Regions from separate parts of the Homo sapiens genome. Here regions 1, 2, 3, 4, 6 and 7 are each linked to region 5. Evidence: promoter capture Hi-C in 16 types of primary human blood cells and fetal thymus (Javierre and others, 2016). All regions are on one chromosome and are shown on one strand. The core of a region is centred on a gene start or on the middle of the fragment in contact, and the rest is flanking DNA. Distances in the headings are between cores, read along the strand shown. Region 1 overlaps DST (dystonin). Region 2 overlaps PRIM2 (DNA primase subunit 2). Region 3 overlaps PRIM2 (DNA primase subunit 2). Region 4 overlaps PRIM2 (DNA primase subunit 2). Region 5 holds the start of DST (dystonin). Region 6 overlaps PRIM2 (DNA primase subunit 2). Region 7 overlaps PRIM2 (DNA primase subunit 2).

Region 1 (3,328 bases), core at 395-2,894, 410 kb after region 5:
ACCGTGCTGCCCTGAGGAGCCGCGGACAGCCCCGGAGCTCCCTTCCGGAGTTCTTTCTGCTGCCTCCACCGCCACCGTCTCTCTCTAGCCCCAGCTGAAATGAAGGCCATACCGCGGCCACAGAACTTGGTTCAGTTTCAAAGGCTAATGTAGTCCCTGGGTTTTCTGCTCAATGTGAATTACGCTGCCTGTGCCTTAGAGGAAGCCGCGGAGCTCTTCGTTGCTGCAATTGCCTCAGGTGGAATAAGCCTTCCTAAGGAGGACCAGATAAGAATCTTTGGAAATGGCTTTTTTTTTTTTTTTTTTTTTTTTTTTAAAGAAGCTTAGTAGTACACCATGCTTTCTGTTTACTTTAAACGGTTGCTGGATTGTACTGCCCTGGGTGTCTAAAAGTCTGGTGTTTTTTTCTTTCTTCCTTTGAGTAGTTCTGAATAGCATTGAAGAAGCTTAAAACAGGAAGAAAACCTGCCTTTTCAATCAAGTTTATTTATAGCTACTCCCCCCTCCAAAAAAAAAAAGTAAAAGAAAAATGTAACTTTCTCATAACGTTAGACTTAACTTATTTTTCTCTGAAGATTTGTTCTGTGCCTTGATGTGAACAATACCAGGTCCCTGTGTTTGTCTTTTAAATTTCTGGAGCATGGTTTATTTACCAGAATGGTGGAGTTCTGCAAGCCATCTTTAAGTGGATTACAGTTAACCAGAGCTCTGCCGAAATTAACATTCAGGCTGTTAAAATGCTTGCTCATTTGGAAATTTTAATCTGGAAATATCAGACTAAAAAGGGAAATGGACTGACAATGGAATGTTCTGAGTGTTTGAGCCACTGTTAAGTGTGTGTTTGTTTATTTTCTGTGTTTTGGAGTGTGTGAACGGGGACTTTGGGAGCTGGGAAAGGTGGACAAAGGAGATTTTTGTTCTCTGTTATTGATGCACTTTATTGTTTAGAATCATCCTAAAATCAACCAGGTAAAAGGATAGTTGCATTTATACTGATGCACTGCTGATGACCTTAAACACCTCATGTATTATGAAATATATTATTTGAGCATGTGTCTTTATGCTAAAGACACTCCATAGCTCTGTTCAGAAGTATACTTTTTTGGAAGATGCTTTATCTTATTTCTTATCTGTGTCAAGAGCTGCAATATTTGTTTTAACTATCTGCAAAATGGGGAAGCCACTCAGCAGACCAGACTGTTTACGTCAGAATCCCCCATGTGTAGGGAAGGGTGAAGAAGAGGAGGACCTAAATATCGAAGACTGTTACGTCCCACAGCGGTCAATCTATGATACTGTTAGACTAAATGAACAGATAGACTCTGGTTCAAAAGGTAGTCTATCTTCCAGGCATTTTACAGATCGAACTTTACCCTACAGTCACAGAACACTGGATGTTAGTTCTTTATGCTCTAATGGTGCCCTTACTTCTTCCAGTGTATTTGAGCTGAGAGGTCGGGAAGCTAACAAACTAGATGAAAAGATGATCTTTGATGCACTCAAACTAAATAGTGATATCATTCGAACCACAGGATTACCTAAAGCCAAATCTCATGCGGAAAAGAAAGAGCATAGACGGTCATGGCGAATGTTTGTCCCGGCCAATTTTATGGATTATGCAAACAAAAGTGAAAGCTCTTTTGTTGAACCTGCTGATATGTCAGATGCTGTTACCAAGGCCAGCAAGTGCAGATGGGGTACTAATTCTCTCACTTCGGAGGAGGATGACTCTGGTTTATGTAGCCCTCCAGCAGAGAGGGAAGAAAAACAGGGCATTTTAACTGGAGACCAGTCACGAATTAAAAGTTTGTCTTCTACTGAAGATATTCTTGTAACAGACCAATACAGACCATTTTTTTCTGTTAATTCCATTAGCGAACAGAAAATCCCACTGCTTTCATGTCAAAGTGCCCACCCTGATGAAAATTTCAAAATGATTTTACATGATGTTTCTCCACTAGAGGAAGCAAAACATGTAAATGGTCAAAGGGAAATCCACGATGAAAATTGTTGCCTGCAGAATAATTTGAAAGAGAGCCCTGTGAAGTGTGACCCATTAATTATGCCAAGAAATAGAGAAAATGAGCATATTTTTAACCTTGGAGAAGAGGACGAAACATACGGACCTGGAGAATCCCAAATCACAGCACAAAGTAGGGAACTCTTGAAGGATTCCCCTCAAGATTTAGATCTCTCTCACACAGATCTAGGGGAGAGTGATGTAGATTGTGGTAGCACCAGCTTAGTAGAAAATGTGACACTTTTGACACAATATGATTCAGGAGAATGCAACATTGCATCTAAAGAGGAAGTGGAGGCTCCTCTTTCTGCCCAGGAGAGCGAAATGCTCTATAAGAAGTTCTCCCTGAAATTCGTATCAGCAAGAAAGAAAGCAGCACCCAGAAAAACAGGGGCCCAGGCAGGAATATTGGACACAGTCTGCAATGGCTTTCAGTTGGTTCAGGTAATTCATGGAAATATGAAACTCTGCAGTGTCAAAAGTTTGCGGTTCTGCTAAAAGTTTGTGGTTCTGTTTCAGAGTGGTCACTAGTGTTTCTAATAATAATGAAATCCACACTTTTGTTTTGGAGGTTTGACTAGCACCCTGCAAGATGCCACATATTGATAAATGGATAATTATAACAAATTAATAGGGACTGTTTTGGAGAAGAATTGATATTCCCAGCTGTTCAGGGTCCTGTTATTGATTGTGCAGATGGTGGCCATTCCCCTTCATTTAGAAGGCCTCCACTGTGAATATATGTTAATGTTAGGCTTTTACACAAATTGTGGTAAAGACACTGCCATTTAAGAGCCATTATATTGGATTTATTAAGCTTGAACAGGCTTAGTCATGAAGGTACAAACAGTATTATATTGTTATGGCCTGCAAAGTACTCTATCCACATTAAGGACTTTTTTTAATAGGTTGAAAAATTTCTCTCAGGAGCTCTGCATGTGAGAGTAGAGTTATTATGCTGTACTTTGCAGGCATTATAGCTCCCAACTTTTTGTGAGTGGTGAATGAGGTAAGAAAGTAAAGGGTGCAGCCTTGTAATAAGTAGAGATTGCTTGTCAAGCCTGTAATTTTTTTCTTCCCACTCAGATTGAAGTTCAGCTGTTTTGGTACTTTTACTAAACTCTTCTGGTAAACTTGGCCTCAAAGGTAGTTTTATTTTATTTTAAACTTCTCTTCATGCTTGTGTGCTGTGGGTTAGATTAGGGGGAAAGGCTCTCTTCATAGGTATTTTGTTAACATTGAGAGATAAGGAACTTAGACAATATCAGAACCGTTCCTCTTCTCAGTCTGTGAAATAATTGTTCTTGT
Region 2 (3,118 bases), core at 550-3,049, 390 kb before region 5:
TTTTAATATCAATAGAATTCCATAACTAAATATATATAAAATATTTAAAAATTTAAAACAAAAAAATAGTGGCATACATAATTGATCAGACACAGTGCCCTAGACTACATGATCAAGTAGTTAGATACCATACCCATCAGCAAAAACATCGGGAATAACCCACCTACCAATGCAAACTGACACGGTGTGTGCATTGGTGTTTCAAATACCACATCAGTGATGTTCTTTGTCAAAAAAGCGAACTCAGAAACACTCAGAACGAAACAAAGTATTATCTTCCTCAACTCATAGGCTAGTTGGAGTCCAGGAACAATGAGGGTATACCAAAAATATGGGGGAAAAATATTTTGTGTTGATTTATAGAACAGTGTTTAGTTGTAGATTCAGATAATTAGAAACAGTTTAGTTTTTTGGTTTCTGGGTTTCTGTTGTTGTTCACATGAATATAAAAAGTCAAAAAGGAGGCCAGGCATGGTGTCTCACGTCTGTAATCCCAGCACTTTGGAAGGCCGAAGCAGGCAGATCACCAGGTCAAGAGATCAAGACCATCCTGACGAAAATGGTGAAAACCCGTCTCTACTAAAAATACAAAAATTAGCTGGTCGGGGTGGCACACACCTATAGTCCCAGCTACTTGGGAGACTGAGGCAGATAATAGCTTGAACCCGGGAGGCAGAGGTTGCAGTGAGCCGAGATCGCGCCACTGCACTTCAGCTTGGCAACAGAGAGACTCTGTCTCAAAAAAAAAAAAAAAAAAAAAGGGCAGGAAGGATGTGGGAAAATCTGTGGTTGTACAGAACTACTCAGTGCACTGTAAATGCACCAGCATCCCCATCTCCTGTCTACTAAACACCTGTTGGACTTGCCAATCATTTTTACAAACACCAAAAATACCATAAAGATGGCCAAAATATCCAGCAGGGGTGACTATAACCCCTATAGTCCAGAACTACTGGACTGAACCAACAAGCCATCCTTGTGAAAGGCTCAGTTTGAAACAGTAGGCTTTCCTCTATGGCATCTCTCTTGTGAGATAGTAAAAAAAACCAACTCAAGTCCATAACTTTTCTTTTCCTGGCCTATTAAAATAATGACTCCCACTTCAAGTACAAAATCTACTGCCTGATAAAACTTAATTTAAAATTTTAAAAATATATTTTTTACCTACTGCCTGGATTTTGATTTACACTGATCTTTGAATATTATACATGAGTTAATTGTTGAACATGAACTAAAATATACAATGTGATCTGAAAAATGTTTTTAAAAAGATAAACAAAAGGTAGCAGAGAAGAAAAACAAAAAGGGCATAGAAAAACTACGGGCTAGAAAACAAACCCCTCAACGACTAAGTTGGATGAATATAATGTTTTCCCTAGAGATGGCAATATTATACCGAGAAAGCTACCAATGGTATATTTAATATATTTGGTTTCCATTCCTGCCAACAACTGTCAGCTAAAATGAAACATCTCAGTAAAATTATAGTTAATGCTTTAATTTCCGAAACTAATGTAAATCTCTAAACTCACACCTGTGTTTGTATAGCACTTTTGATGGGCCCTGTCACCTTAAATGTCAGCATCTATTCCACTTCATTTCAATAGTTAAGCTGTGAAGAAATCTACTCATATATTTAGTAACATGCTTTGTGACTTATACATCTCTAAATATTTAGAAGACTAATTTTAAGGAAAGTTACTTAACCTGTCTGAGCTTCAGTTTCCTCATGGAGCTGTTGTGAGGATTAAATTACATAAACCTGGCTGGTCACAGTGACTCACACCTGTAATTCCAGCACTATGGGAGGCCAAGTTGCAAGGATCACTTAAGGCCTGAAGTTCAAGACCAGCCTAGGCAACACAGTAAGAACTTATTTCTATAAAAGAAAAAATTAGCCAGGCAGGGTGGCATGCGCCTGTATTCCCAGCTACTTGGGAGGCTGAGGTGGGAGGATCACTTCAGCCCAAGAGTTCAAGGCTGCAGTGAGCTGTGATCACACCACTGCACTCCAGCCTAGGCGACAGAGCAAAACTGTCTCTACCACAGAAGAAGAAGTTAAATTTTTTTACCCATGTGAAGTATTTACCAAAGTGCCTGGCACTTAACAAACACATTACAAATGTTAGCTATTAGTGATAATCTCTCCTCAGTCTCCTTATATCACCAGATAAATCTAAACCTTAATAAGTCCACTACTTATACAGTCATCAATAAATATTCCTCCTTTAGAAAACAAGGACCCCATCCAAGTCTGGAAACAGTCCTCTGGGTTTTCCAATATTCATACAGAAGCCTTATTCCTTGGACCAACTAAAGGGAATTGGAATATATTTGGCTATTAAGCTCCAAGATAACAGAAGGATTCTCCTGGAATGGGGAGAGCACACTTTGACCAGAGATGAACAGGAAACAAAGCCAGACAGGAGGCAGGTATCAATAGCCGAAGTACAGCACAAGGTATTTGAAAGTCATGGAGATAAACAAACAGAAGCAAGCAGAGAATAAATGGAGACAAGTCCAGAATAGGGGTATTAACTGTGCTGTTGTCCTTTGTATGCCTTCAGAGGGGTGGGGAGTAGCAGAATGGATATATTCACAGGGCCTGGACCAAATGGATTTGTTACGCAACTACTTCCTCCTCCCTTTGTAACTCAGATTAAGCCACTCAAAGACTGAGAACACAAAATGATTACCTTTACAACTCCATTTGCCCTCCACATCCCTGGTTCTTATTCTCATCCAAAAGACCTAGGATAAGGCAATCTGACCTAGACTCTGAACTAGACCATGACACAAGACTTCAGCCAAAAAGAATTAACTTTTCAGGGAACTTGGAGGAAAGAGGGAAAGATTATAAAGATTATGGAATTTTTAAAAATGTATACATGGCTGGGCGTGGTGACTCACGCCTGTAATCCCAACACTTTGGGAGGCCGAGGTAGGCGGGTCACAAGGTCAGGAGTTCAAGACCAGCCTGACCAATATAGTGAAACCCCGTCTCTACCAAAAATACAAAAATTAGCCAGGCATGGTGGTGGGCGACTGTAATCCCAGCTACTCGGGAGGCTGGGGCAGGAGAATCATTTGAACCCAGGAGGCGGAGGAGGTTGCAGTG
Region 3 (3,228 bases), core at 415-2,914, 490 kb before region 5:
TAACTTTAATAATAATTGCCACAGAGGTGTTACTTTGTTCTTCAATTGTTTCATATGTGTGTCACTTCTGTAATCATCTCCTTGAGAACAATGGGGACCAGGTTTAGCATCTCATACTAAATCCAGAACCAATATCTCCATAAATCTGCACTCATACATCTAAAAATATCATATGTCAGTCTCCAGAGCTTAATAAAGGTAAATAGATCCAGACCTACAACAAAACCAAAGCCACTCTCAATTTTCATGTATCGCATACTTTAATACATCACAGAATTTGGCAGAAAGAAGATTTTAAGCAATTGCCTGGTGGCACTGCCACTAGCCTAGGCCAAATCAGAAGCTCTTCCCTGACCAGCATCTCATGAAAGTGCTATCAGTGAGGCTTCAGTTGAGGTGGGCCTTCAAGAGTTGTCAGTGGAAGGCTCCAGGGCCTGGACTTTCTTGCTCCCAAGAGGTACCACAAGGGTAAATGTACCCAGATCTGGACCAACATCTCCTTCCAGCCCAACTTCTACCTTCCCTTCCATCATGGAACAGTAGGTGCAGCCTGGTGCACAAGCAGATGGTGGACTGGAAGGTACATCAAGGTAATGCATGGGAGATGGAGATGGCCAGCTGACTCGCAACTCACCTTGAGGGAGCAGTTATTAGGTCCCATTCCCAATCCTTACACAGGGACCTCCATTCCTGTGTTGAAATTTAAAGTTTAAGGGCTCCTTAAACAACAGCCCTGAACCTAATCCCCACTAATAACTGAATGGATATTTCTAGTGCTTCTCACCTATCCACCTTGTTTTCTGTGTATCTAGGAAAGCAGCCCCAGGCATGGTGGCGGGTGCCTGTAATCTCAGCTACTGGGGAGGCTGAGGCAAGAGAACTGCTTGAACCCAAAAAGCACAGGTTGCAGTGAGCCGTGATGGTGCCACTACACTCCAGCCTGGGTGACAGAGCAAGACTGTCTCAAAAAAAAAAAAAAAGAAGTGGCGTGTGCCAGGCCTATGCCCATGCTATCAGTGAATTCTGCCAGTTATCTGAGCACATTCATTTCCTTTCTTATTGAAGCTATTCTGAGGCAAGTTTTCTATTACTTCTAAAAAAAAAAAAAACAAAAAAAACAGTTACTCATGATCCTGAGGTAGGAAAAGGCTTAAGACAATAGATTTGAGAACAGAAAGGACTGTTCTATGCTCAAGGGCCAGAATGCTAAAGTTTTACAAGACGTCTTTTCAGAAACAATGCTATCTGGCTGTCTAGAACTGCAAACTCCTCCCAACCAATCCCCTGGCTCTGAGGAAGTATTTACTCCTCAGAGTGAATTACCAAGAAATGGCTTTGTGTGTCTGTGTATTCTGAAGAAGCTGTAACTACAGAACTAGAAAGACCATGGCTGAGCCTCACTCCACCAACAGAAATAAATGCTGAACCAGCAATGGCAGCATACACATACATTACTGTGGTGTGTCAGGCTGCTGGGAGAACAATGTTCTTCCTTCTAGTGGACAAAGACTACACTGAACTGCAGGAAGCACAACCCCTTTGGTAATCAGATTTTCATGTTTCTCTTCTGTGAAAATAGTAACCAGGACCAATTCTAAGAATGAGTAACTACCTAGAGATTCTCAGGCTACTATAAAGAGAGGAATCTGAAAAATAAAAGAAATTCTCATGAAAATGTGGCAGGCAGAGCCAAGGGTAATCTATGTGAATTAATAAAGAAGTATAACCTTCCCTTTTCATCTTGCCTTCCCTTTTGTCTCCAGTATTCAGGAATCAGCATAGTGGCTGAGGTAGCTAAGGACACAGGGCAGTGAGAAAGGGTTGGGGGTGTGCACAGGCCCAGGGCAACAGGTGCAGTGGCAAAGGAACAAAGATGGCCTAGAGGTGATAAACAATGAAGATAGCAGTGTAATTGGGAGGTCTACATACAGAAAATTATTTTTGATTGTGCAAATAAAATATATTGAGGATAATGGGTGCTATGTTACTGCCAAAGGAGGTATTTACAAACAACTCCAAGATGCAAGGTTAGAACTGAAGATATCAGTAGGAACCCATGATTTTGTTACGTACTCATATACACACACACACACCCCTCTCCTAACTCTGTCCCCTGATAGGGTCTCAGTTTCTTCAACTATGAAAATGAAGAGATACCCTAGAATCATTCTGAATCCCTTCCACTTCTAACAATCCATGATTATACGAGAATGTTGGCAAACAAAGATACCTGCCTTTCTGCAATCTGCCTGAACCTACCAAAAATAATACTTCAGAAAGATATATATCATGACAGTTAGAAATTAGTCAACAGGAAAAAGCAGAATTATCAATTATATCTATCACACAACACAAAGTAGCATGTTATAAATGTTCACTCTCTAGACGTTGTTACTGCTTAAGAAATTGTCATTTCAGCAAATAATTTTTCTTAATGCTAGAAAGATACAACATGAGCATTACTCTGCTTTAAAAAAGGAGCAAGGAGACTATCATTAACAAAAATCTGCCACCCCAAATTATTTCATTTCCACTTTACACCAGAGGAGATGAAATTTTAAATATTTAAAAACCAGAATACATACTATGCAGAGAGGAGCCAAGCAAAAGCAATTAGAATTGTGAAATATTAATTTTAGCTTTTCCTTCTTATAACCTTCGTAAATATATCAGTCAAAATGTTAACCTTTCTGCTAAAACACATAAAATGCCCTTGTAAAACAAACATGTATCTATGAACTCTTCTGCTTTGTCACAACTTTGCCATTCCTACAAGTAACGAAACAAATTTAACATAGACATTATAATACCATAATTTTTTTTTTTTTTTTTGAGATGGAATCTCGCCCTGTCACCCAGGCTGGAATGCAGTGGTACGATCTCGGCTCACTGCAACCTCTGCCTCCCAGGTTCAAGCGATTCTTCTGCCCCAGCCTCCCAAGTAGCTGGGATTACAGGCGTGCGCCACTACACACAGCTAATTTTTATATTTTTAGTAGAGACGGGGTTTCAGTATGTTCGTCAGGCTGGTCTCGAACTCTTGACCTAGTGATCCGCCCGCCTCGGCCTTCCAAAGTGCTGGGATTACAGGCATGAGCTACCGCGCCCAGCCTATAATACCATAATTTTTATTCTACTCAAATGATTCTTTTAGGAAATACATATTTAAGTAGCTGCCTACCATAAGACTACACAGGATTATGTCTAGCCACCAACATATATACTTTG
Region 4 (3,279 bases), core at 103-2,602, 470 kb before region 5:
ATACAAAAAGTGGGTGCCTGTAATCCCAGCTACTTGGGAGGCTGAGGTGGGAGAATTACTTGATCCAGGAGGCAGAGGTTGCAGTGAGCCGAGATCACACCATTGCATTCCAGCCTGGGCGACTGAGAGAGACTCCATCTCAAAAAAAAAAAAAAGAAAGAAAAGAAATACTTTTGAATTTAATGTCTTCTATTTGACTACATAAATTAATGCAAAAAAAAGAGTTCTATAAATTTAAACTGTACGTTTGATGAAATGTCATAGCTCAAATTATAATGCAAGATATATTTTTAAGACTGGTACAGTCAAGATCCAGTCTTGTAGATAATAAACTTATAAATTAAGACTGACATCTTTTGAATCTTTCATCTGGTTCTAGTATCTTACATCTATTCTAGATGATTATTTTGAAGCCAGAATTCAAGGAGCACAGACTTTGATTTTCAGCAGATAAATTCTATCAGAATATCAAATGTAAAGAGACTGCTCTTTGAATGGAGAAAAGAAAAGCATACAAAGACAGTACTTCAAAATACAGAAAAATGAAAATCTTGAGTGGCAGAGACTCTAACCACCAATAGTCAAGCTTCTCATTTGGCAACATAAGAGGAAGTGGGATGGAAAGCTGAAATAAAAGGAAAGACAGCATGCAAATAGCTATCACTGAATAGTCTGGCAAAAATGTAAAGCAAGGTCAAACTGTTAACAATGATCATTGTAATACTTACAAAAGAAAACTCACATTCACAATAAAAACACAGATGTCACAAACATTTAAAATTCTCTAACATTTGCTTACAGCTTACATAATAAGGCTTAATGAACACTAAAATTGTAAAGCAAAATATTTTCCCAAGTTTTGCATACTAGAGAGCTGTTGCTTCATTAAAACAAAAGAATTTGATATATCAGTGCCATTACTCAAATAGACAAACTTAACAACTAGCCTGATAAAAATCTGTTAAGGAAAAAGATAGGGGTTGTGTCTCTGGTTTCAAACTTTATTTTGTGATTTGGGCTCTAAATATGTCTAATAAAATTTTTGACTCAAATTTTATTTAATCTCTTTTGTTCCAGATATTACTTTAGTCCTTTATTCACCACTGTAAGGTTTTGTTCTATTTTCTATGACTTTCTTGAAAATCACTAAATACAATGGCCTCTTCTCAGTCTTCATACTCCTGACTATCTGCTCCTTGGTCTACCATCTTTGAGCTTCTCTGAGTGCTCTTCCATCCTTCTAGAAGATTCGTTTTCAGATTTCTTCACTGTCTCCTTCCACCATCTGCCCTGTAATTGTGAAAAGCCTCTCCTTTCTCCCCATTTCATGCTGCTACCCTTAGTACTCTAATCCAATTTCAATGCAACCTTGAATAACTGTCACTACTATCCCTGATCTCTTTTCTGAATGCTAGAATTACATTTCCAATTACATGCCAGATATCTCCACAAGTGAATATTTCTATGGCATCTCAAAGTAAACATGTCCAAAACTAAAATCATTGTTCCATACCCTCCAACATCCAAACAGACCTACTATCAACATAGTTATTTTCCTTCCTCCTCCAATTCACCCCAAAATACAATCTGATACCAAGTCCCCATGGATTTTGGATCAATTCTTAGCCATCCTGGCAGATATCAAAAAGCCTCTGTCTTCATTTTGCTGCCTTATCTTCTAATCAACCCAGGACCAGCTAAGATTGTTAGCTGAACATGGAAGAAGCTGACTAGCAGAAAATGAGTTTATTAAAAGGCTACTAGGAAGCTCACAGAATTGTTGGGAAGATGAAATATTATTCTTTTTTTTTGAGATGGAGTCTCCCTCTGTCACCCAGGCTGGAGTGCAATGGTGCAATCTCAGCTCACCGCAACCTCCGCCTTCTGGGTTCAAGGGATTCTCCTGCCTCAGCCTCCTGAGTAGCTGGGATTACAGGTGCACGCCACCACACCCAGCTAATTTTTGTATTTTTAGTAGAGACAGGGTTTCACCACGTTGGTCACATTGGTCTTGAACCCCTGACCTCGTGATCTACCCGCCTTGGCCTCCCAAAGTGCTGAGATTACAGGCACGAGCCACTGTGCCTGGCCAAAAAACTATTCTTAAAGTTAAGCTTCCAGGCTCAAAAGAGGAACTAATTAGTTCTAAAACAGGACTAATTATTAATAGAAAATGGCCATCACTGCTGTTTAGCATCCCACAGAGTACTAAAGAAAACCACTCCCACTGTGGGAAATCAATCTAGCAACCACCAAAAAGACACTGCTGCCACCAAAGGCAGAAAGTCTCTGCTCACATCCACCACTGCCACCACCAAACACAAAAGCTCGATGAAGATTCTGTTTCCTCAGTTCCAAATCAAAGTCCTGTTCTGTTTCCTCAGTTCCAAATCAAAGTCCTGTGAGAGGTGAGTCTAATCAACGAAGTATAAGTCATATGCTTATGATCTGGTTACAAAAGAGAATGAGAATTTGAGTGCTGTCTTCTATATTGGTGGGAGTAACACTTACATTAGCAAGACATTTTATTTATTAAAAAAAAATTCCCAAATGTAAGACTTTATTCAAAAACCGAGGGTTAAATATGAATGCAACCACTACTACATACTACCCCTCCCTCCTGCCCTCATCTCCAATCCTATAATAAATTCATACAAAATCATACCAGAGTCTGGTAAATATATATTAACAGAATTGCTGGAACTGGACCCAGTCTCTAGCTCAGAGTATTTGGCTGGAGCCCAAATTCCCTGCCTGCATGATGCCAGCCACTATGCCCTAGGAAACCACACCTTGTTCCTAAGACCAGTAAATACTCCCTCCCTTTGTCATAGCTGGTTCCTCCTCCACACAGTACAGACCACCAAAAACCTCCTCAATGCCATTACAGGCTTTATAAATTGGAAATAACAAGAAACTTTTGTCACTGTATCACATACACCAAAGTGAACCCTATTGGACACCAAAACCAACCTAGAATAACCCTAAGTTCAACATACCCTTTGAATTCTAGGATATGGATGGCAACTCCCCGTAGTCTAACCACCCCATTCTCCAGAACCAGTCATTCCCCATCAATGGCCACCAAGATCCTAGGGCACATCTCTCACACTCGTCCCTCCCTCCTATCCTCACTGTCACCATTCCAGTCTGGGTCTTCATAACTTCTTACATGAATATTGCAAGAGCATCCTAACAAATTCTTCTACACCAAAGTTCCCCTTGTACCATCACCACTACAATCACACATGCATATAAAATTCACATCAAATATTTAAT
Region 5 (3,421 bases), core at 756-3,255:
GATTTTCTTCAATAACCTCTGCATAATTGTTGAATAGTTTCTCACTGCAGTGGGCTGCGGTATCAAGAAACCTTTAGCCATATGCACATGATGTAGTGCTACCTGTCACCCACTCTGAGTGCTAGAGACCCATGAAGCCTATCCTGGAATTCAGTGCAGCCTACATGCTGCCATTCAAAATTCCCACCTTATGCAGTGTCTCCAAGCAAGGGCCCTTCTGAGTTCAATCCAAAACAACTGAATGAATGAGATGCAACATGTCAACAATTCGAATGTTTATTTTGTTTAAGGAAACCAGCTGTAAACAAAACGTATCTGTTGTTTTCCATGCTTATGAATCTGGCACTAAGAGACTGCATTAACCAATGCCTTTTTAGGTTTAATACTTACACACGGTAATATGTTACTGGCTTTAAGGACATCAATGATTAAGCTTTCATGCAGAGCTGTACGGTTTTGTATAGTTGGAAAACAACACTGATTTTGAGATCACTACAAGCAAATAAAACTTTTATTCCTCCCAATTATTTACCTGCTTTTCAAATTTTTATAAATTTTTATGACACAATTTCTTCAGTCTATTAAATATTCCAAAAAAGAGGCTAATACAGTTGTTATAAGAAACTCCGCAAATGCAGTCAAGTGTTACCTTGTCACTATAATTAAAGTTTTCTTATGCGAGTAAATGAAACAAACAATCCAGCCCCACACAGGGAAAGCCAGCATTGCCTTGGGGGCAGCAGAACGCGGCACAGCACCGCCCGCCAAGGCCGCAAGATGCCGCAGAATGACTGCTGCAGCAGCCGCTTCCTGGCCAGGTGGCCGTGGCCGTCCGCAGAAAGGCACACTGCAGCGCTCTCGCTATACCTTCCGTGCTGGCATTGCATCAGTGTTAAATCCCCTGGCCACCAACTGCCATATACTTTTTGCTGGTTATGAAGAAACGTGGGGAGGGGACAAAGGGGAGACAGAGTGTGCCTGCAAGTGTGAGAGATCACTATTGCCTCACACTCCCTAAAAAATTTCTCCCCCAAATGTTTATAAGCCAAGTACCAACTTACTTCATCTGCCAGGTCCCTAAATCTGAAATCGCCTTGCCCTTCAAATGCACTAAATGAGTCAGGGTTTTAGGGCAAACCCAGGGATACAAGAAGATCGAAAGTGCCCAATTCTTAGCTGCGAGATAAGCACCAAGTTTGGGGTGGAAGAGTTCACCTCTGCCGACCAGAGCGTACTACCCCGGAGCGCTCCTAGTTTAGAGAGGCTTGGAGAGGAGTGGGCCTCCCGTTCCTGGAGTATCCCAATTCCCAGGGAAGGCCCTTCCCGGCGCTCGCGCTTCAGAGTGCGAGGAAACCCCCACAAGCAATAGCTCACCCGGCTGCATTCTTCAAAGCCCCAACCTCGGGGCGGGGCGCAGGGAGGTGGGAGGTGGAGGGTAGCACCGCCGGGAGGCTCCTGTCAGCGCCTCTCGGTTTTCCCCCTGGCTCCTTGGCGCCCCCTGACGACGGGCTCCGCAGCAATTTGGCCGAGGGAGGCTGGATAGGCGGAAGCTCCGGGTGTCCGGGAAGCTAGAGGCACCCGGCCAATGCACCCGCGGACGGCGCGGACTGGCGGGCGGCCCCGCGGGAGGGCGCTGGGCTCTCAGGCCCGGGTGCAGCCCGCGGACGCCGCCGAAACCGCCGCAGCCATGTCCGCGCGCCCGCGCTGCCGCAGCCTGGCCGTGATGTCATCAGCCGAGCCCCCGCCGCGGCGCCCCATTCCCGCCCCCCGCAGGCTGCCGCGGCTGCAGCCTGAGCGCCGCGTCCCCGCCCCGACCCACGTGCGCCCGGCTTCTGGGATGCTGAGGTCGGCGGCGGCCGCAGGACGATGCGCGGGGCCCGGGCGGCCGCGGCGGCGGCGCTGCTCCTCCCCACTCGCCGCGTCCCCGGCGGGGCTGCGCCCGGGGGCTGCGCACGGACGGGGGCGGGGGCGCCTGGGGAGGGAGGGGAGAGGATCCCAGCCGCCGAGTCGCAGCCTCGTCGCTGTCTGCTGAGTCATGGCAAGCGCTCCCCGCAGCCCTGGATCACTCGCGTAGCGCGGCTGGCGCGGGGTGCGCAGCCATTGGGCTGGGCGCGGGGCCGCGAGCGCCAGGCATGACGCGCTGAGCCGCGCTCACCCGTGCCCGCCGTCCCGGCGTGCGCCCAGCGCGGGTGCCTGTGCCGCCGCCCTCCAGCCCCGCCGTCGAGTCGCCCTCGCCTCGCCCGCACCATGATCGCCGCGGCTTTCCTCGTCTTGCTGAGACCCTACAGCATCCAATGTGCCCTCTTCCTCTTGTTGCTTCTGCTGGGCACCATCGCCACCATCGTCTTCTTCTGCTGCTGGCACCGCAAGCTCCAGAAAGGGAGGCATCCGATGAAATCGGTCTTCTCGGGTCGTTCAAGAAGCCGAGGTAAGACACGCCGCGACGGGTTTCTGCGGGCTACCAGGAACAATTAAGCCGATTTGGAGAGTGAAGCGCGGCTCGCTCCCTTCTCCTCGGCTGCCCCTAGCCCCATCATTGCCCACTCCCCAGGCTGAGTGCGTTTCTTTAACGCCCCTTGCCCTTTTTGCCGTCACCTCCGCCCTCCAGTCTCCCAGGTTTGAATAACCACGGCGATGCCGAGGGCAGGGAGGGGAGGAAAGAACTCAAATTTTTAGTCAGTTTGCTAAAGCCTTAAGGGTAATTTGAGCGTAGTCCGGGGCTGCGCCAGCCTCGCCTTCACGCATCCTTCGCTGGAGCGTAGGGGTAAGAAAGTAAGGCATGGAAACTTCGGGGCTCCCCAACTCCCCCAGAACTTTCATGCAAACTTCTCGCGGAGAAATCACGTAGAGACCGATGGCCCCAGGACTCCTCCTCCCTCCCCCAGGATGTCCCACCGAATTCCAGGAGTCTGCGATGTGCTTTCCCAACCCTGGTCTCCCAGGTAAGTCATGAGTCACTCGGTAGGTGAAGAACAAGGAGTTAAATGAAGTCTCATTTATCTCTTTTCTCCCCAGATGCTGTTTTGAGATCGCACCACTTTCGTTCTGAGGTAATTTATTTAGCGCGCACGCTCAAGGTCAGAAGAAGTTCTCTTTCCTGAGTACCAATATTAATTATATGCGTGTTAAGAAACCAGTAGGACACTGAATGACGAACATGCTGTCCCCTAGCCGAAAGTGGCATGTTTCCTTTTAAGTGATTTCATATTAGTGCCCAGCGAACGGTTTTAGCAAATTTCTTGTGTAGTGGAGCTGTTGTACAAGAGGGGAAAAGGCAAACCCTAAAAGTGCTGCAGACCTTAAAAAACTTAGCCACAGGGTGGATGTCACTTGAGTTTACAGTTTATATTTTGCTGGTGGAAGTGTTTTCTGGGTGCTGTCAGTTGACTCTGGTTGTTCACTTGGATAAACGAAGAGGTTA
Region 6 (3,333 bases), core at 300-2,799, 430 kb before region 5:
GCCTGCTCTGTGACTGGACCTTAATATACTTACCTTTGAATATTTTATCAGAGTTTGAAGACCTAAATCACCTGGTTATACAACTCCTGACAAAGGCACAGTTACCATCAAAAGACCCTAAGAATTACAATCAGAAAACCTGAGATCAAGTCAGGGCTCCAGCAATTATTAGCCAACATAATCTTAGACAAATTACTTTGGCCTCTCTGTGCTGCATTTTCCTCATCCATATAATGCACATTATAACCCCTTTCTCTCTCAGTGACTTATAGTGGGATTAACAGTATGTATAAACAGTAAACTGTGAACAAAAGCAAGTTTATATCATTATTTGGTATCTGTCAGTTCAATAAAATTTTACTGACCACTAACCCTATGTGCCACATGCTATACCAGATAAAAATTTGAATTAAGAGAAATTCCTCACTCTCAAAGAACTTACATTTTAATTGAGGAGGAAAACACATAATGAGAATAATTTCACCGTAATTTGGTCGTGTGCAGAATGCTGTGGGAACACAAAGGAGATATACTTAGCACAATCTTGGGACTTAAAGGGAAGGTTCTGGGCCACAGAGTTCCTATCAAAGGAAAAAGTAATGTCAATTTTTTATCAGTCCTAAACCATGTTCAAAAGCTAGATAGTCATATTATAAAAGTCATATGGTCACAGGTTAAGAATAAGCTTTCAGTTGTCACCTGGGGTAAAACTCTCATCAATTTACAACTTCCCCCAGAACCATTTATTTCATCCTCTACCACTCATCAAAATACCTTTCAAAAAATCTACTTTAGGGTACTTTTTCTTATCCTACAAGAATATTTCCATTTATAAAGCTGAAAGTTTTCAATTACATACTCCAAGGTCAAAACCTTCCTCAATGGAAAGGACAGTAATAAAGAGACCATAGCAATAGGTTTAGATTTCTACTTCGCCACAGCCCTAAATGAACTCCTTCGCTTCCCTCCTGCTCCTTTCCACAGCTGTCAGGACAGGCTCCCAGGCAACAACTCCCACCACTCTCCTACATAAGAAAAAGTGTTCTCTGGACCTCCTCTCAACCAGGCTCGGCCCTGAACCACCCAGGAGAAAGCAAGTCACTGTCTGTCTTCTATTAAATCCAAGACACCAAGGCCAGAACTCTCCACAACCCACCTGTAATCAGGACAAATCCTTTTCTTTCTTTCTTTCTTTCGTTCTTTTTTTTTTTTTTTTTTTTTTGAGACAGGGTATCACTCTGTCGCCCAAGCTGGGGTGCAATGGCATGATTATAGCTCATTGCAGCCTTGATCTCCCAGGCTCAAGTGATCCCCCCACCCCAGCCTCCCAAGTAGCTGGGACTACGGGCACATGCCACCACGACTGGCTATTTTGTTGTTGTTGTTGTTGTTGCTGTTGTTGTTGTTGTTGTTTTTAGTAGAGACTGATTCTCACTATGTTGCCCAGGCTGGTCTCAAACTCCTGAGCTCAAGCAATCCTCCCACCTCCTCCTCCCAAAGGACGAGGGTTACAGGTGTGAGCCACCCCACTCAGCCAGAATAAATCCATTTAAAGTAAATCTAAATCCATTAAAGCTGTACACAGATATACTCAATACCCTACAATTCCATTCCTAAACACATAACCAACAGAAATATGTTTTCCAAAATATGTGCTACAATGTTCAGAGCAGCAGTATTTGTGATAACCAAAAAAAAAAAAAGAAAACAAAAGCCAAATGCCTATCAACAATAGAATGGATAAATTTTGATAAAGTCAATCAGAATTGGGCTGAATCAAAATCATGTAATCTGATAGAATGCAATGAAAAGAACATAGCATAACTTCTGTTACAGTACTACTTGAAATGTCTAACTTGAATCTAGGCAGAAACATCAGATAAACCCAAACTGAGAGATACAAAATAACTGCTGATAATCTTCAAAAGTAACAAAGTCCATGAAAATCTAAGAGAAACTAAGAATCTATTGCAGACTGAAGGAGATTAAAGAGACGTGACAACTAAATAATACATGTGAATTAAAATTGCCTGTGGAATGTGATTGAGAAAACTGGTGAAACTTGAATGGGGTCTGGAGGTTAGATGGTAGTAACTTATAAACATTAATTTTCTTATTTGGATGTTGAATTGTGGTTATGCAGGAAAATGTTCTGTTTGAAGGAAATAAACACTAACAAGTATTGGGGGTGCCAAGACATCAGGCTGGGAACTTATTCTCAAATGGTTTAAAGAAAAAGTTGCTATTTTCTACTTAATTTTCTGTAAGTCTGTGATATTTCAAATTTTTTTAAAGTATTAATTTTTTAAAAAGTATGTTTGGAAGGGGAAGAATGAGTAGAAAGAAGTGAAGAAGAATGGAATTCAAAGTTCATAAATACTCTTATTTCTTAACAACAAGGTAGAAAGCTTAGGTGCAGTTGGCTGAAATGAATTTATTACAAACTTAGGAACCCAAGTTCTGTCTTTTCTCTCAGTATAGATCCCCCACTTCTACCCAGAAAGTAGAAAAAAATTGTAAAATTTTGCAAAAATCTGCCACATATCCTTCTTTCTACACTGGAATATTGGGATGATAAATCACAAATATACATAGAATATCTTGACTTATCTAAAATAAAAATGTGTGGCAAATGTAAAATTTTTTTTACATTTTTAAAGTTGCTTTCAAGGCAAATTTATAAAACAGTCAAAACTTATTAAAAATTTATTTAAACTTTGCAATACACAAAATCAGAAGTAGCTTTAAACCCAAAAGTAAAAGAATTTCAGATGCATTTTCATAGTTAGGTTTTTGGGCACTGGGCAGCTTGGCTTGAAAGAAATTACAAAGTGAAAAACTTTGTACATTTAATTCATATTCAGTGTCTTTTCTAGGTAGTAGACAATTGTTGTCTGCCTCCCCATCTTCATTCTCCCCTCTCCCCATTCCTAACAATCATCCATTTTTGTTTGGGATATTGTGGTTTCAGGAACACACTGACTCTCAGCTCCCATGATACCCCATCTAAAGGGGCAGACACATGATCTTAGGCTAGGCTATCCCTTAAACCACAATAGCTGCTTTAGTGATAGACATGTGATATGGGTTAAACTCTGTCCCAAGAAAATCATATGTTGAGGTACTAACCCCCAGTACCTCAGAATGTGACCTTATTTAGAAATAGGATTGTTGCAGATGTACTTAGTTACAATGAGGTCACACTGGAGTTGAGAGGTGACTGATATCCTTAGAAAAATGATACCCCAATATGACTGATATCCTTAGAAAAAGCAGAATTTGGGACATGCAGGGTGAATGCCATGTGAAGACTTGAGTTATGTTGCCACAAGT
Region 7 (3,492 bases), core at 636-3,135, 410 kb before region 5:
ACACTCTAAATCATGCACTTCGATCTAAATTTCATGTCACTTCCTGTTTCATGGCCTATGAGTAAATATTCTGGTTTTCTTTGATGAATTAAAAAATACATCCATTTGTCAAACAAATTCTAAATCTTCATTTATCTATTTAGTTATAACCAAAATGGAAATGGAAAATACAAGACAATTCTCATTGAAAAATGTAGGATGACTGTCAGAAACTTTACTATTAAATAATTAGTATAAACTGCTATTAACTTCATTATTTTGAAATCCTAAAATAATCCTGAATATTCTCTTTACTCTTGCTTTCTCCTTAAAAACTATTGGACAAAATATAAGGATATTTCATTTATTTAGGTTCTCCTAAATGAGATTACCTGCTGCATACCTAAAAAAAATACTCATTCTCTGAAAGAGCAAGACAAGATTAAATGGCTTCCTACTTCTACTAACAAAGAATACAAGTAAAAACAGATAGAGTGGAACAATTATAAAAGCAGAGTAAAGTAGTAGAGAGAATAGTTTTCAAAATCATAGAAACCTGTCTTTGAATCTTAAACAGGTTAGTTAACCTCTTTACACCTTAGTTTCTTCAGGGATAAAATGAAGAAAATCATACCTATCTCATGTAGCTTTTCTTGGGATTAAATAAAGTATGTAAAGTGTGTACAATAGGCCTAACATACAGCACACCCTTAGTACATGGTAAACACTTGTTGTTACTACCTGTAATTTACATTTTGATTAGTTTCTGTATTTCAGGCTTTTTCCTCAAGTAATAAAGTGAAATGTTTACTGCAACTAATGCAGTTTCTATAAACTTGTCATTTCATTAAACTAACACAGGTCTTGGTGTATAGGGGAATTCAAAATAACTGATAAAAGCCAGCTAGGTTATCACTGCAACATCTTATAATCAAGGTGTAGTATGCTTCACAAAGTAAACATCCTCCTAAAAAGAGGTGTATAAACAAATGGCTCAACATGAAACACACATTTTTTGAGTGACTTACATTACTATTTTAGAGATGCTCAACCTTCACTCTGATTAATGTCCAATCAACAGAGACTCTGAACATTCTAGCTTTGAAGTTCTGCTCTTGCCACTACTACTCATAATTCCCCACATCTCAATCCCTATTATTCATATCCACCCACTCAACAGTCAGTACCTGAATGTTTCAAATGGTAGCACATGGTATAACGGTATAGTTTTTTATCAAGTAAAAATTACACTGGGTTTTAACTGTTTTGGCAAAGTTATATTTCCATATTCCAAAATTATGTTGTTTTATATGCTGCCTTGCTAACAGAATTAAGGATTTTGGCTGTGTGTCTTTTTCTTTTTTATATTCTTCATCAAACCAGGAACTGAGAGAGGCAATTTCACTCTGTTGAAATCCTGAAAGCAGATTAAGGAGCAGCTCTAGAGAGGCAAATACTCTACACAGTAAATAGAAGGGTAGTGGATGTCTGTGTAGACTGTATCGCTATTCACCCTGTACTGAGTCCCTCACTGAGGGAGAATTATACACCCCCTACCTGCTGAACTAAAGTGTAGCCAAGTGACTTGCTTTGGCCAGTGAAATGTGAGTGGAAGTGACGTGTGTTATTCCTAAGCAAAAGCTTTCTGAGCATGTATTTTACCCAGTTCTCTCCTCCTTTTGCCGCAGCAACTGGTGAAGTTCCGGTATACAGAGCCTACTCGATCTGCCTGAGTCCAGGGACAAAATGACACACAGCAGGGTTGTAGCTGGCCCATGAAGACACAGAATATGAACAAGGAACAAACCTTTCTATAAGTCACTGAGGTTTGGGGGTCGTTACCAATGCATAAACTAAACTGACTGGAACAGTGACCTTCATCTTTGCATCACACATTGTCATCAATGAAGTTTTTTCAGCACATACTTCCAATATATGTATATTTATTTATAAATTATATGTATGTATTACTGTACATTCTGCACTTAAAACATGCCATACCCATCCCCAAAATGTGGAACGGATGAGACTAAAAATATATGTTGTATTATTTATTTCTTTCCCACATTCCCAAATGATCATCTTGGGGATGCCATGTTGGAACCACTAGTCTAGTACACTGGCATCAAAAGTAAAGATATAAATAAGGCTTCCCAGAGATTTAAGCTTCTATAAGCTTCCAATCAACAATACTCAATCACATTTATAAATAGTTTGGATAGTTTCTATTTGAATCTACAGAGCTTTCTTAGACCCTGGTCATTAAGTAAGTATGTACATTACTTGCCAGTGAAGCTTTTTAAAATTACAGATTCCTGGTGCCACCCAGACCTACAGACTGAAGCCCTGAGCTGTATGTTTTTTTTTAAGGTCCATTAGTGGTTCGACATACATCACTGGTCTAAACAGCATATCCCAGGAAAAGAATCCGCTTTTCTAAAATAAATGTATGATATATATATGATATATATAAAACAATTAGGAATCATTTCATTTATAAAGAAATTAAAACTGTGAATAGATCAAATGCTGAAAGCAAATATCATAATTTTTAATACTGTTATTATCATTTCAAATAAATATAGGTTCTATATTGGTAGCAAATACTGTGATTATAAAGGGCAATTTGTTTCCCAAATGCACTGTGATGTAATCATCAATCTGGAGTACATGGGGATTAAAGATGGCTGCAAAGTCTTTGACACATCCTCCGTTGAGAGCTAAGATCTATTTGCCCTCCCCTTGAATCTGGCCTGGCCTGTGACTACTTTGACAGGAACGAGTGATGCCCTGCCAGGCCCAGGCCTATTTTTTGAGAGGACTGGCAGATTCTGCCTTGTTCACTTGGAGTCCTAGATCATGAAGTAAGAAGTCCAACCACCTCGTTTGAGGGATCACATGGAAAGGCGTCCAGCAGAGTCCAGCCTTTTAGAAGTCCTCACATATGCACAAGCATGTGAGTAAAGCTGTCTTAGACATCCTAGACCAGACTAGTTGTCAACTAAGAAAGCCCATATATAATACTATGTGGAACAGAACAATTGCCCTGTAAGCCCATTCTGAATCCCTAACCCTCGAAAGTGTGAGATATAATAAGATGGGTACTGTTTTAAGTTTTAGAATTAAGTTTTGATTTTAAGTTTTAATGTTAGGTTTTGGAATTGTTGTTTTAGGTTTGGAGGTATTTCTGACACAGTGATAAATAACCCAAATATTTATCAACCTAAAATAAGTTAGTTTTAAACATTTTTTTCTATCTGTAATCCAGTTCTTACAAAGTACTTTCTTCATTTAAATGTATAAAGGAGAGCCATATAATAGGAAAAAATTTTAATTGGAAAATCTTTAACAAAGAGACAAAAATAGAAAATAAAAAAGGAAATAATTACCACTCTGTGGCTGAATTAATTAACTAAAATTGATAGGATAGTATGGTACTTCACTCACAAATTTTTTTGTCATTTATAATCATCCAAAACATTAAAAGTTAGAAAATGAATAATTTAATATCCT

What was found. The method cuts DNA at HindIII sites, captures the fragments that hold promoters and counts their contacts. A CHiCAGO score of 5 or more calls a contact.
Region 1: a contact is called between a fragment that was not itself captured here and the fragment with the promoter of DST in region 5, in 1 of 17 cell types (erythroblasts). The highest score is 5.1, in erythroblasts.
Region 2: a contact is called between a fragment that was not itself captured here and the fragment with the promoter of DST in region 5, in 5 of 17 cell types (erythroblasts, activated CD4 T cells, naive CD8 T cells and 2 more). The highest score is 7.3, in erythroblasts.
Region 3: a fragment that was not itself captured here is called in contact with the fragment with the promoter of DST in region 5 in 1 of 17 cell types (erythroblasts); the score reaches 5.6 in erythroblasts.
Region 4: a contact is called between a fragment that was not itself captured here and the fragment with the promoter of DST in region 5, in 1 of 17 cell types (total CD4 T cells). The highest score is 6.1, in total CD4 T cells.
Region 6: a fragment that was not itself captured here is called in contact with the fragment with the promoter of DST in region 5 in 3 of 17 cell types (erythroblasts, total CD4 T cells and endothelial precursors); the score reaches 7.2 in erythroblasts.
Region 7: a contact is called between a fragment that was not itself captured here and the fragment with the promoter of DST in region 5, in 1 of 17 cell types (activated CD4 T cells). The highest score is 5.5, in activated CD4 T cells.

What each region holds. Positions count from the first base shown.
Region 1 is chr6:56,539,416-56,542,743 of GRCh38, reverse strand. All of the region lies in intron 61 of DST (dystonin), which reads left to right. Among named protein-coding and RNA genes, the nearest start is that of COL21A1, 290 kb to the right of the region's middle. RefSeq lists enhancers at 1-83, 1-553. The HindIII fragment of the contact is 2,391 bases long and covers 449-2,839 here.
Region 2 is chr6:57,346,390-57,349,507 of GRCh38, reverse strand. All of the region lies in intron 5 of PRIM2 (DNA primase subunit 2), which reads right to left. Among named protein-coding and RNA genes, the nearest start is that of PRIM2, 30 kb to the right of the region's middle. RefSeq lists an enhancer at 2,053-2,553. The HindIII fragment of the contact is 8,245 bases long and covers 1-3,118 here.
Region 3 is chr6:57,444,171-57,447,398 of GRCh38, reverse strand. All of the region lies in intron 7 of PRIM2 (DNA primase subunit 2), which reads right to left. Among named protein-coding and RNA genes, the nearest start is that of MIR548U, 56 kb to the right of the region's middle. The HindIII fragment of the contact is 3,968 bases long and covers 1-3,228 here.
Region 4 is chr6:57,419,035-57,422,313 of GRCh38, reverse strand. The region is part of intron 7 of PRIM2 (DNA primase subunit 2); the gene reads right to left. Among named protein-coding and RNA genes, the nearest start is that of MIR548U, 31 kb to the right of the region's middle. The HindIII fragment of the contact is 1,528 bases long and covers 589-2,116 here.
Region 5 is chr6:56,953,414-56,956,834 of GRCh38, reverse strand. It overlaps DST (dystonin), which reads left to right and starts at 2,005. Exons shown (of 104, transcript NM_001374736.1): 1 at 2,005-2,428; 2 at 3,016-3,050. The coding sequence starts at 2,248. It overlaps BEND6 (BEN domain containing 6), which reads right to left and starts at 1,728. Exons shown (of 7, transcript NM_152731.3): 1 at 1,375-1,728. RefSeq lists a silencer at 1,540-2,229 and an enhancer at 2,391-3,022. The HindIII fragment of the contact is 5,182 bases long and covers 436-3,421 here.
Region 6 is chr6:57,384,307-57,387,639 of GRCh38, reverse strand. All of the region lies in intron 7 of PRIM2 (DNA primase subunit 2), which reads right to left. Among named protein-coding and RNA genes, the nearest start is that of MIR548U, 4.2 kb to the left of the region's middle. The HindIII fragment of the contact is 1,723 bases long and covers 688-2,410 here.
Region 7 is chr6:57,367,139-57,370,630 of GRCh38, reverse strand. The region is part of intron 5 of PRIM2 (DNA primase subunit 2); the gene reads right to left. Among named protein-coding and RNA genes, the nearest start is that of MIR548U, 21 kb to the left of the region's middle. The HindIII fragment of the contact is 525 bases long and covers 1,623-2,147 here.